Linked DNA regions of Homo sapiens: region 2 is linked to region 1. Evidence: promoter capture Hi-C in human tissues and cell types (Jung and others, 2019). All regions are on one chromosome and are shown on one strand. Each heading gives the region's core, a stretch centred on a gene start or on the middle of the fragment in contact. The rest is flanking DNA. Distances are from core to core; before and after follow the strand shown.

Region 1 (5,304 bases), core at 1,216-3,715:
CGGTCCCAGGCTCATGACCAGATGTTTGGCTGCAGACCCAAAGAAGCAACAGCTTCCCACAGACTCCTTCGGCAGCCAAAGGAATCTGTGCAGTCTCATTTTGGCAGCTGGATGCGCTTGGTTTCTCAGCTGGATCAGTTGGTGACTCCACTGGTCCTCCAACTTCCTCTTGAGACGTTACTTCCCCAGCTCCTCCCACAGTCGTGTAAGGTCTAATTCCTATAATAAATCCCTTATCCTATGACCCAAAGAGGTTCTTCTTCCCTGATTGAGCTGCAACTAAATACACCATTATCCAGGTCAAAAACTAGAACATCACTAGCACCCCAAAAGTCCTCTTTATGTCCCTTTCTGATCACACTCCTCTCTTTTCTCCTAGAGGTAATCATGATCTGACTTTTATGATAATCATTCTCACTTTTTCTTTCTCTCTTTTTTTTTTTCGAGACAGAGTCTTGCTCTGTCGCCCAGGCTGGGGTGCAGTGGCGTGATCTCGGCTCACTTCAACCTCTACCTCCCGGGTTCAAGCAATTATCCTGCCTTAGCCTCTTGAGTAGCTGGGATTACAGGCATGCCACCACACTCGGCTAATTTTTGTATTTTTTTAGTAGAGGTGGGGTTTCACCACGTTGGTCAGGCTGGTCTCAAATTCCTGACCTTGTGATCCTCTTGCCTTGGCCTCCCAAAGTGCTGGGATTACAGGCGTGAGCCACCACGCCCGGCCAATATTAAGTTTTCTAAGATTTATTAATGTGGTTGTGTGCAACCTAGTTTACTAATTTTCACAATATGCCACAATTTATATCTTCTGTTCTTTTTAAGTGGTTTGTTTATATGTCTCTCTTTCTCATTTGATGAACAGAAACTGTGTCTTACCTATCTTTGCATGTTCCTCCCATTTAACCTGCTCAACCCAGCATATAGCACAGTATTTGCCTATCTCAGCTAGGACCTCAATACTGAATTACTACCCTATTGTGCTTCTTTAGTGATCATTTTCTTCCTTCTATGCAGCACCTATTCCAAATCTTTTCCATCATACATAAACCTTTAACTCTCTTGCCTTCCCCTCACTCTCAGCAGACAGCTCCTCTAGCCTCTTAGAAAAAAAAAAAAATAAATGTTACCAGATGGGAACTCCTTTGACATCGTGCTACCAAACCTAAAAATCTGCTTGCACCCAAATCCATATTTTTCTTCTTTCCTCCTATTACAATGAAAAGGATGCCTTTCCTGCTATTCAAGATTAGTCGTTCTACTTGTGCCATGGATTTCATTCCTGGCTCCTCAGAACCTTGACTGATCAACTTCCCTCTTTCATTTGTATTTAACTACTCCTTTTAGAATTTAAACATGCTCAGGTCTCTTCTTAGGAAGAATATGTGTTTACCTATCCGCCAACTATAATTATGTCTTCAGCTACTGCACTGTCTCCTCCCGCACAGTTAAACTTCTTATAAGAGTACTCTGATCTAATCCAATCTTTCCATTTCTTCAATTCCTACTTCTCAGCCCACTGCAATCTAACTGCCTTCTGAGTCATCCCCTGTAACTAAAGCAAAAACTCTCTTAACGTATATTTAGCCAACATAATGCAAATTGACTGATACTCTCTGTTGCCTTCGTGAAACATATTGGTGGAAGCCAACGGCACACTCTATAGCTAACGTGCTACTGCCTAGTACATACGCGGATTTTTGTTTTTTGGTTTTCTTTTCTATGGATTTTTTGTTTTCTCTATACAGTTATAGGCTTACCAAGAATCAGTTGTGTTTATTTAACCTATTTATGCTGGGTATTCTTATTACTATAATTATGTAATTTAACTGATTATTACGTAAACTCATTATATAACTGTTATATGAAATATAAATAGAAAAAATAAAATAGTTGTTTCTGTGCAAATTAAATTGAATGGTTTGGAAACATTTACAATTTTCCATTCATTGGGGGAGCAAGAAAAGATCGAGGGAAACCATACATATCTAGGATTCTGCGTTCAGATTGCTTCATGAGCACCTTTGAGTTCTTGGTCTATTTTAAATAAACTAAAACAGGGAATGATAGACAATACCTTTATAGATATGATTTATGTGAGAAAACCGAGGCTGAATTCCAATAAACAGATAATACTCAAAGAAAGGTTTACGGCTCCTATCAAAAGATTGGCAAATAAAAGTACAGTGATATGTTTTCAGTTAAAACAGCATGTTAAATAATGTAAATTTTAAAAAATGATTCCCCAATTTAGTCATTTTTTCAAGGAACTGACCATTAACCAATTCCCAAGTGCCACTCACACCGCACCACTCAGACCGCGTAACTTACAGTCTCTAAATCCAATAGATCCTTTTCCATTCCAACTTGACCTCATGGCAGTGTAGCACTGCTGACAAATGTCTTTTTAAATGCTCTCTTTTTGCTTCCCGCTGCAACAAGCGTGGGTCACGCTCTCGCTCGCGCTCTTTCTGCCGCCATCTTGCTTCCGCGTTCCCTGCACAAAATGCCGGGCGAAGCCACAGAAACCGTCCCTGCTACAGAGCAGGAGTTGCCGCAGTCCCAGGCTGAGACAGGGTCTGGAACAGCATCTGATAGTGGTGAATCAGTACCAGGGATTGAAGAACAGGATTCCACCCAGACCACCACACAAAAAGCCTGGCTGGTGGCAGCAGCTGAAATTGATGAAGAACCAGTCGGTAAAGCAAAACAGAGTCGGAGTGAAAAGAGGGCACGGAAGGCTATGTCCAAACTGGGTCTTCTACAGGTTACAGGAGTTACTAGAGTCACTATCTGGAAATCTAAGAATATCCTCTTTGTCATCACAAAACTGGACGTCTACAAGAGCCCTGCTTCGGATGCCTACATAGTTTTTGGGGAAGCCAAGATCCAAGATTTATCTCAGCAAGCACAACTAGCAGCTGCGGAGAAATTCAGAGTTCAAGGTGAAGCTGTCGGAAACATTCAAGAAAACACACAGACTCCAACTGTACAAGAGGAGAGTGAAGAGGAAGAGGTCGATGAAACAGGTGTAGAAGTTAAAGACGTGAAATTGGTCATGTCACAAGCAAATGTGTCGAGAGCAAAGGCAGTCCGAGCTCTGAAGAACAACAGTAATGATATTGTAAATGCGATTATGGAATTAACAGTGTAACCATCTGAAAGCAACTTTTTTTGGTGTCTCAAAGGAGTAACTGCAGCTTGGTTTGAAATTTGTACTGTTTCTATCATAAATAAAGTTATGACTTCTTGCTGGAAAAAGAAAAGAAAAGAAATGCTCTCTTTTTTTGGTCTCCAAGTGCCGTACTCTCCGGATCTACCTTCTTCCCTGGCTTATTCTTCAGTTTCCTTTGTGGTCATCTTTTCTTCTACCCAGTTCTTAAATATTAGTGCATCTCAGGGGTCTTTCCAAGGCCTTGTGTTCTTTTCACTCTGCACACTCAACATAGGTGATCAGATTCATTTCTCTTGCTGATGATCCTCAAATAGTTTCAGTCCCATCTTTGTCCTAAGACACAGATTTGGATATCCAGCCACCTACTTACCGTCTTTCCTTGGATACTCTCCCGGCACCTCAATCACAGGATAGCCAGAAGTATACTCATCATCTCTCCTCTACCGGATGACTAGAGCTCCTTCTCCAGTGTCCCCAGCTCAGTGAAAGTCACCATCATACCCTTCATTCCCAAACCAGCTACTCGATACTCATCCTTAGCTCTTCCCTATCCTTTAAAATCTCTGGCACCCAGTAAATCTTCAAGTCCTATTGCTACTGCCTCCTGAGCATTTCTCAGATTCATGCACCTCTCTGTGTCTCTACTGCCATCATCCTCTCCCAGATTTTCCTAATAACCTACTAAACCGTCTCTCTACCTCCAGTCTCTCTTCTGTCCGATCCATTCTGCAACCAGAGTTGCATATCCCTTCTTTAGTGTATGAGCAACTGAAATAGTCTGAACTCTTCATGTGGCTTATTAGGCCTTGTATGGTCTGGCCTCTGACAGTTTTCTGCTATTCCCCTAAATGCTCTGGTCATACTGAACGTCTTTCAGTTCCTGCAACATCACACTCCCTTGCCCTCAAGCGTTTACACATGCTGTTCCCTCTACCTGGAACATTCCTAGTCATCTTTCAAATCTCGGCTTCAAAATCATTTCCTCAGGAAAGTTTACCCTAATCCCTAGACTAGCTTAGGTCTCTCTGAAATATGTTCTCATTACGCCTCTCTTTGCTGTTTAGTATTTGTCTTCTTAATTGGATGAAGTCTCTGCAAGAATAGTGGCCATGTCTTTCCTATTCACTGCTGGGTTCCTAGCCCAGTTCCTATAGAGTAATAGGGACTCAGTAAATAATTGTTAAGCAAATGAATGAAAGAACAAATTGACAATAGCTAGCCCTCAATAATTGTTTGTTGGATGAATAGTTTTAAAATCAAATATACTATTAAATACAACTTGCTGTGCAGAGGAGAGTTGCCCTCAGCAAACTCACTGCCATGAGATATGTTATTCCAGAATCTGAAATTCTGGAGTTCTTTTTGGAATTGCCTTCATAACATGTGATATGTTCTCCTAAACACTCTAGATAGTGGCAAATACTCACACTTTGAGATTGGATTTTATTTTGGAAGCAGCAAAATCATTCAGAGCCAAAATGGGTGATCAAGCTGGGTAACTCCACCAGAGGTGAAAAATTAATTATGTGTGACTATAAATTAATGAGACTGAGTTTTCTATATGGCTCATAAACTAGGTCATAAGGCAATTCCAATAAAGAAGTTCCAAAAGTGTTTTGATCTAATGCAGGATTGTTAACAATGTTTGTATAGCTTCCCAAGGGAGCTCCTTTGTAGGAGGTATTGCTCATTTGATGTATACAGTCAGACATTTTTTAAAAATCGTGTTTCTTTTAGACACACCGTCTATGTACATATGAGCTTTCTTCAAGCTTCAGCAAAAGCATAATATAGTAGAGACCATAAATTAGAAGTAATTGTTACTTATCATCTTCATTGTTGTGAATACTTACAACAATATGCAAATTATTGATCATCATAATTTGACCACAGGTCACCACAAAACAAAGTTACTTTAGCCCACCTACTTCAACTACCTCCAACAAAATGTTATGAAATGTAGATAATCCTTTGCCAACTAAGATAGTTCTCCAGGGTACCCACCACTGTGAGATTGGGTTGGCTCTGTTCACTGAAGTTAATGAGTGAGTCCAAGGTTCATGGCACAGATGGTGCCTTCACGCTCTTGTCAGAAGCCTCGAAATATGTATTAATGGTCACAAGGGAAATCG
Region 2 (5,171 bases), core at 2,461-4,960, 210 kb before region 1:
AATTATTATGTATTTGTAAAAAATACATTGGCCGGGCATGATGCTCATGCCTGTAATGCCAGCACTCTGGGAGGCTGAGGTGGGCACTTGAGGTCAGGAGTTCAAGACTGGCCTGGCCAACATGGCAAAACCTGTCTCTACTAAAAATACAAAAAATTAGCTGGGCATGGTGATGCGTGCTTGTAATCCCAGCTACTTGGGAGGCTGAGGCATGAGAAGTGCTTGAACCCATATGTATATATGTATGTGTATGTACACACACATACACACACACACACACACACACACACACACACACACATATGTATATAGCTGCCTCAAAGTCTTTTATCCCTGATATAATTTATATATTTTATGTATGGTTGTTTTTTGTTAAGGATAGCAAACTAGGAAAAATAAATATTTTTATTTCAAAATCGTTTTAAAATAAATAGTAGAATTAATTAAAATAAAAGTGGCCCATTATTCTACCACTTAGTTCCAATGACAATTGAAAAAGAGAAGTAGTACATGTATGTGGTTAGAAAATGAAAAGAGAGGCTTTTTCTAGATCCTCCATCTCCTTAATCCTTTAAGGTAACTACTGTAAGATTTTATATATCTATTCTACCAGAATGTTTAAAAAATGTATTTGCTATAATGTATGTGCACATATTCTTTAAAAAAGCAATTTACATGAATTTAATCATTCTATACACGTTATTCAACATGTTTTTCTCACTTAACATAGAGAGCCTAATCAACACATAGACAAATCTAAATCATTTTTAAGGGCTAAAGTTTTTGTATTAATTTACCATAATTTATTTAACATGTCCCTTATGGGTAGACATTTGGTTAATTTTCAATTTTTTGGCTATTTAACAGTACAGGGTACATCTATTCACATTAATGGTAAAATTTTAAATTTTGGTAGTTTTTTGACAAATTGCCTATGTACTTCTACTACTAGAATTTTATACTTCTACTAAAAATATATATACTTTTCTAATTTTGTACATTTTTAATAGTATATGAGACACTTGTTAGGGCTGGGTTTTATCAAACATTTTATTTTTTTATTAATGCACATAATGAGTATTTTTTTTTGAGACAGGATCTCACTCTGTTGCCCAGGCTGGAGTGCAGTGGCGTGGTCACTGCTCACTGCGGTTTAATTTTTTTTGTTTTTTTGTAGAGATTGAGTCTCCCTGTGCTGCCCAGCTGGTCTTGAACTCCTAGGCTCATGCAGTCCTCCGGCCTTGGCCTCTCAAAATGTTGGGATTATAGGCATGAGCCACTGTGCCCAGCCTGTAATGAAATTTTTTTATTTCCAGTGATAGAATGGGGTGGAGTGCAGTGGCTCATGCCTGTAATCCCCAGCACTTTGGGAGGCCGAGGCAGGCGGATCGCTTGAGTTCAGGAGTTCAAGACCAGCCTGAGCAACATGACAAAACCCTGTCTCTACAAAAAAGGAGCCATATGTGGTGATGCACTTGTGGTTCCAGCTACTTGGTGGCTGAGGCACAAGAATTGCTTGAACCTGGGAGGCGGAGGTTGCAGTGAACCAAGATTGGATCGTGCCACTGCACCCCAGGTGACAGAGTGAGACTCCCATCTCTGAAAAAAAAAAAGGTAATAGAATGGCAAAGGGCATTAGTAGATAACATAAAAGAAGAAACACAAATTACTATTGAACCTTGTTAGACTATTCATACAACACTATGTTAAACTTTGCTAGAAACTATAAAAAATACAAATCAAAACAAGATTCTATTTTTTACTTTTAAGATAGAGATAACAAAAGATAACACCAGTGTTGATAAGGATGTGGGAAAAGGGTAATGCAAAGCAATATATACTTTCTGGAGGATAATTTCACTATATGTTTTCAAGAAACTTAAAAATACCTTGTAGCGTCTGATCCCATAATGCCATTTCTAAAAATATAGACTAAGAAAATATTTAGAAACCAGCATAAGAATGCTCACTGCAGCCTTATGTCTAAAGCAGAAATTGGTAACAGTCTATAAGCCCAGTAATAAGAAAACTGGTTCATCAGCTATGGCACATTAATTCAATGTACATATATGAGCAGCAACGAAAAGATGCTTAGTGATGTCAAGATTTTCCTTGTATGATTTTTAATACGCTAGACAGAAGAAAACAAAGGGAATATGCTTTATAAAAATTTTTGTTTATTGTGGCTGAATTGTTAATAATCCTCAATGCCTGGGGAACATTTGCTTTGTTCTTGTTTTTATTACTATTTAGAGATAGGGCTTTGTTTTGTCATCCAGGCCGGAGTGCAGTGGCTTGATCATGGCTCACTGCATCCTCGAACTCCTGGGCTGAAGTGATCCTCCTGCCTCAGCTTCCTGAGTAGCTAGGACCATTGATGTACGCCACCAATCCTAGAAAATTTTTTATTTTTTGTAGAGACAGGGTTTTGCTACATTGCCCAGGCTGGTATCAAACTCCTCACCTAAAACAGTCCTTTTGCCTAAGCCTCCCAAAGTGCTCACACCTGTCATCGTGCCTTGCTTGTTCTTGTTATTTTAATATTGGGTCACATTGTAGAGATATCCTTATATACACATGTATAGAAGAAATATGAAATGAAATACACCAAAATGTTTCTAGTGCATTCTTTGTGTAATAGAATTATGGATAATTTAGGCTTTTTTTGGTACTCCTGAATATTTTGTAGTGAATACTCTTACTTTCTTTTTTTCCCCTTAGGACATTCCAACCTACCTACTTACCTTCCTTCCTTCTTATTTATATTTGAATAAGAAATACTATCACATGGCTCAAAGTTGAAAAGGTACAAAAGGGTCTACAGAGAAAAATCTCTCACTCCTGTGCCCAGTCACTTAATTCTCATCCTTGGAAGCAACCAGTGATACCATTGTTTTGTGAATCCTTTCAGAAGTATTTCATGCCTAACATCAGTTTAATCAGAAAAAAAAAGGCATAACAAACATATTTAAAAGAAATTTTTTTCAAGTTAATTTAGGGTATTTGGAGCTCTTCCGATTTGGACTTCTATCTAAGTCTGAGTCAACCAGACTTCGTTGTGATTGTAGCTATGGTATTGTCTCAAAAAAGACAAAAAATTAGCCAGGTGTGGTGGCGTAGCCAGTAAAATCTTAGCCTTGTGGCTTTAATGATGTTCCTCAAATTCTGAGATAAGCTTATTTTATTCCTTCTATGCTAATATTGGTTCACATTTCAGTTATGCATATTTGTTTCTAGGGAAAATCCTGCTATTTTTATCATGGAGTTCATAAAATTAGTGATCAGCACACATTACAGACTTTCCAAGGGATGTGCAAAGCCTGGGATATAGAAGAACTTGTCAGCCTGGGGAAGAAACTAAAGGCCTGTCCATATTACACAGCCCGAGAACTAATACAAGATGCTGACATCATATTTTGTCCCTACAACTATCTTCTAGATGCACAAATAAGGGAAAGTGTGAGTATATGTGTAAAAATGAGAACCTTCTTCCTACTCATGGAGATGTAAATGTTGAATGTAAAAGCTTTTAGATGTTTTAATTTTTTTTGCTTTAATTTATGTAAATAAATTTGTGTAAACATATTAGAGTACTGAAAACATATCCTAACATGGGTTAAAATCAACCCACTCATTTTAATTTCCAAAATAACAAGCAGTTTTAAGGAACATAGTGACTGAAGTGGGATTACAGCAGGATTTCTCTTTGCATTTATGAATATTCAAAAAGAATTATTTAGAAACATTTCTCTGAAAAAACTATGTTTTGAAGAACTTATGTGGGGGAATAAAATTATGCCTTGTGAGCTTTGAGAAGTGAACTTCAGATAATGGCATTTGTGTTTGTTTGCCTGGTTCTTTTTAGAGACATGCAATTGTTAACAGCATAAGACAAAAAGTGAATAATTTGGCATAGTCAATTGTTATTCCTGTCTTCAGATCTGACTGCACAATTCATCTCAGCTTTCTATTTCTTTAAGATCCAAATTAATAGGCATTATGTTTACTACCCCTTCTATCCTACCTCTTATTTGGTTATCTCTTAACTAGATCTCTTCCTTCTGAGACACTGTGCATATCAATGCCAGGTCAGTTTTCCAAATATTGCTTTTATTACATCCTTTTATCTGCCTAAAAATCTATTGCTTCCTTTGCTCATGAGATAAAGTTCATATTTCTTAAGCTTACACTCAAGATGCTCAATAGTCTGACCTGGATCTGCCCAATTTGAATCCTTCAAAAATTACCTCATACTCCCTTGAGGATACCTTGTTCTTTACTCTATCTTTGCTTTTGATGACACCTCTTTGGAATGCCCTGTCCACTCTTTGTCTGTCCAAATCCAAATCCTACTTATCTTTTAAACCCCAATATATTTCCTACTCTTCCATGGTTTTTTCTCAACTTTTCAGCTGTCTGTGTATTCTTACTTCCTCAAAATAACTCATTGACAATTGCTTTGTGACAGTTCCTTGTATTAGTCAGTACTCTTTCTATTGCAAGTGACACAAACCTACCCTAAAAAATGCTTAAGAAAAAATACTTGATTCTCTTTATTGTGATGGCTTTATTCTCAGGCAAGTTCTCACTCTTGCTTATGGAACAAAGATAACCATAAGCAGCTAGCTCACCTGGAGAAAAGAGCATGGCCACATATTAGTCCCTCCAAATTACTCTGGTTGGCCTACCGTGGATCACATGTCTGTTCCTGAACCTGAACCAGTCACTGTGACCACAGAAGGATGGAATACTCTATTTAACTGACAATCCTGGGCCTTACCCCCATTGTGAAAGTGGTGATGTCCTTTGATTCACAGGTTAATAGTCCTGCCAGCATCACATGGGAGTTGGAGAAGAACAATTCTCCAACTCCCATGTTGGAGAAGGATTGCAGGACAGATTAAAACAAAACATATATATTATGTTAGTATTTTAAGAGTCATTTTAATCTTGTATTGTTATTTTACTTTTAAAGGTTTTATGCTTTTAATCTTGTATTGTTATTTTACTTTTAAAGGTCTTATGCTTTTAATCTTATATTGTTATTTTATTTTTAAAGGTCTTATAATTAGTTTGTAAAATTATGTTGGAAACACTTTCATAGTGGGATTTTATACCTTTCTGTGTAGCCTGTGGTACCTTGATCCAGACTCACTGACATATTTTTGTTG

What was found. The method cuts DNA at HindIII sites, captures the fragments that hold promoters and counts their contacts. A contact is called where the count stands out against the background at its distance.
Region 2: a fragment that was not itself captured here is called in contact with the fragment with the promoter of NACA2 in region 1 in 3 of the 25 tissues and cell types used here (aorta, dorsolateral prefrontal cortex and mesenchymal stem cells).

What each region holds. Positions count from the first base shown.
Region 1 is chr17:61,588,380-61,593,683 of GRCh38, reverse strand. It overlaps NACA2 (nascent polypeptide associated complex subunit alpha 2), which reads left to right and starts at 2,465. Exons shown (of 1, transcript NM_199290.4): 1 at 2,465-3,263. The coding sequence starts at 2,504. The coding sequence ends at 3,151. The HindIII fragment of the contact is 8,743 bases long and covers 1-5,304 here.
Region 2 is chr17:61,799,541-61,804,711 of GRCh38, reverse strand. BRIP1 (BRCA1 interacting DNA helicase 1) reads left to right here. Exons shown (of 20, transcript NM_032043.3): 8 at 3,238-3,459. Among named protein-coding and RNA genes, the nearest start is that of BRIP1, 61 kb to the left of the region's middle. The HindIII fragment of the contact is 4,813 bases long and covers 1,304-5,171 here.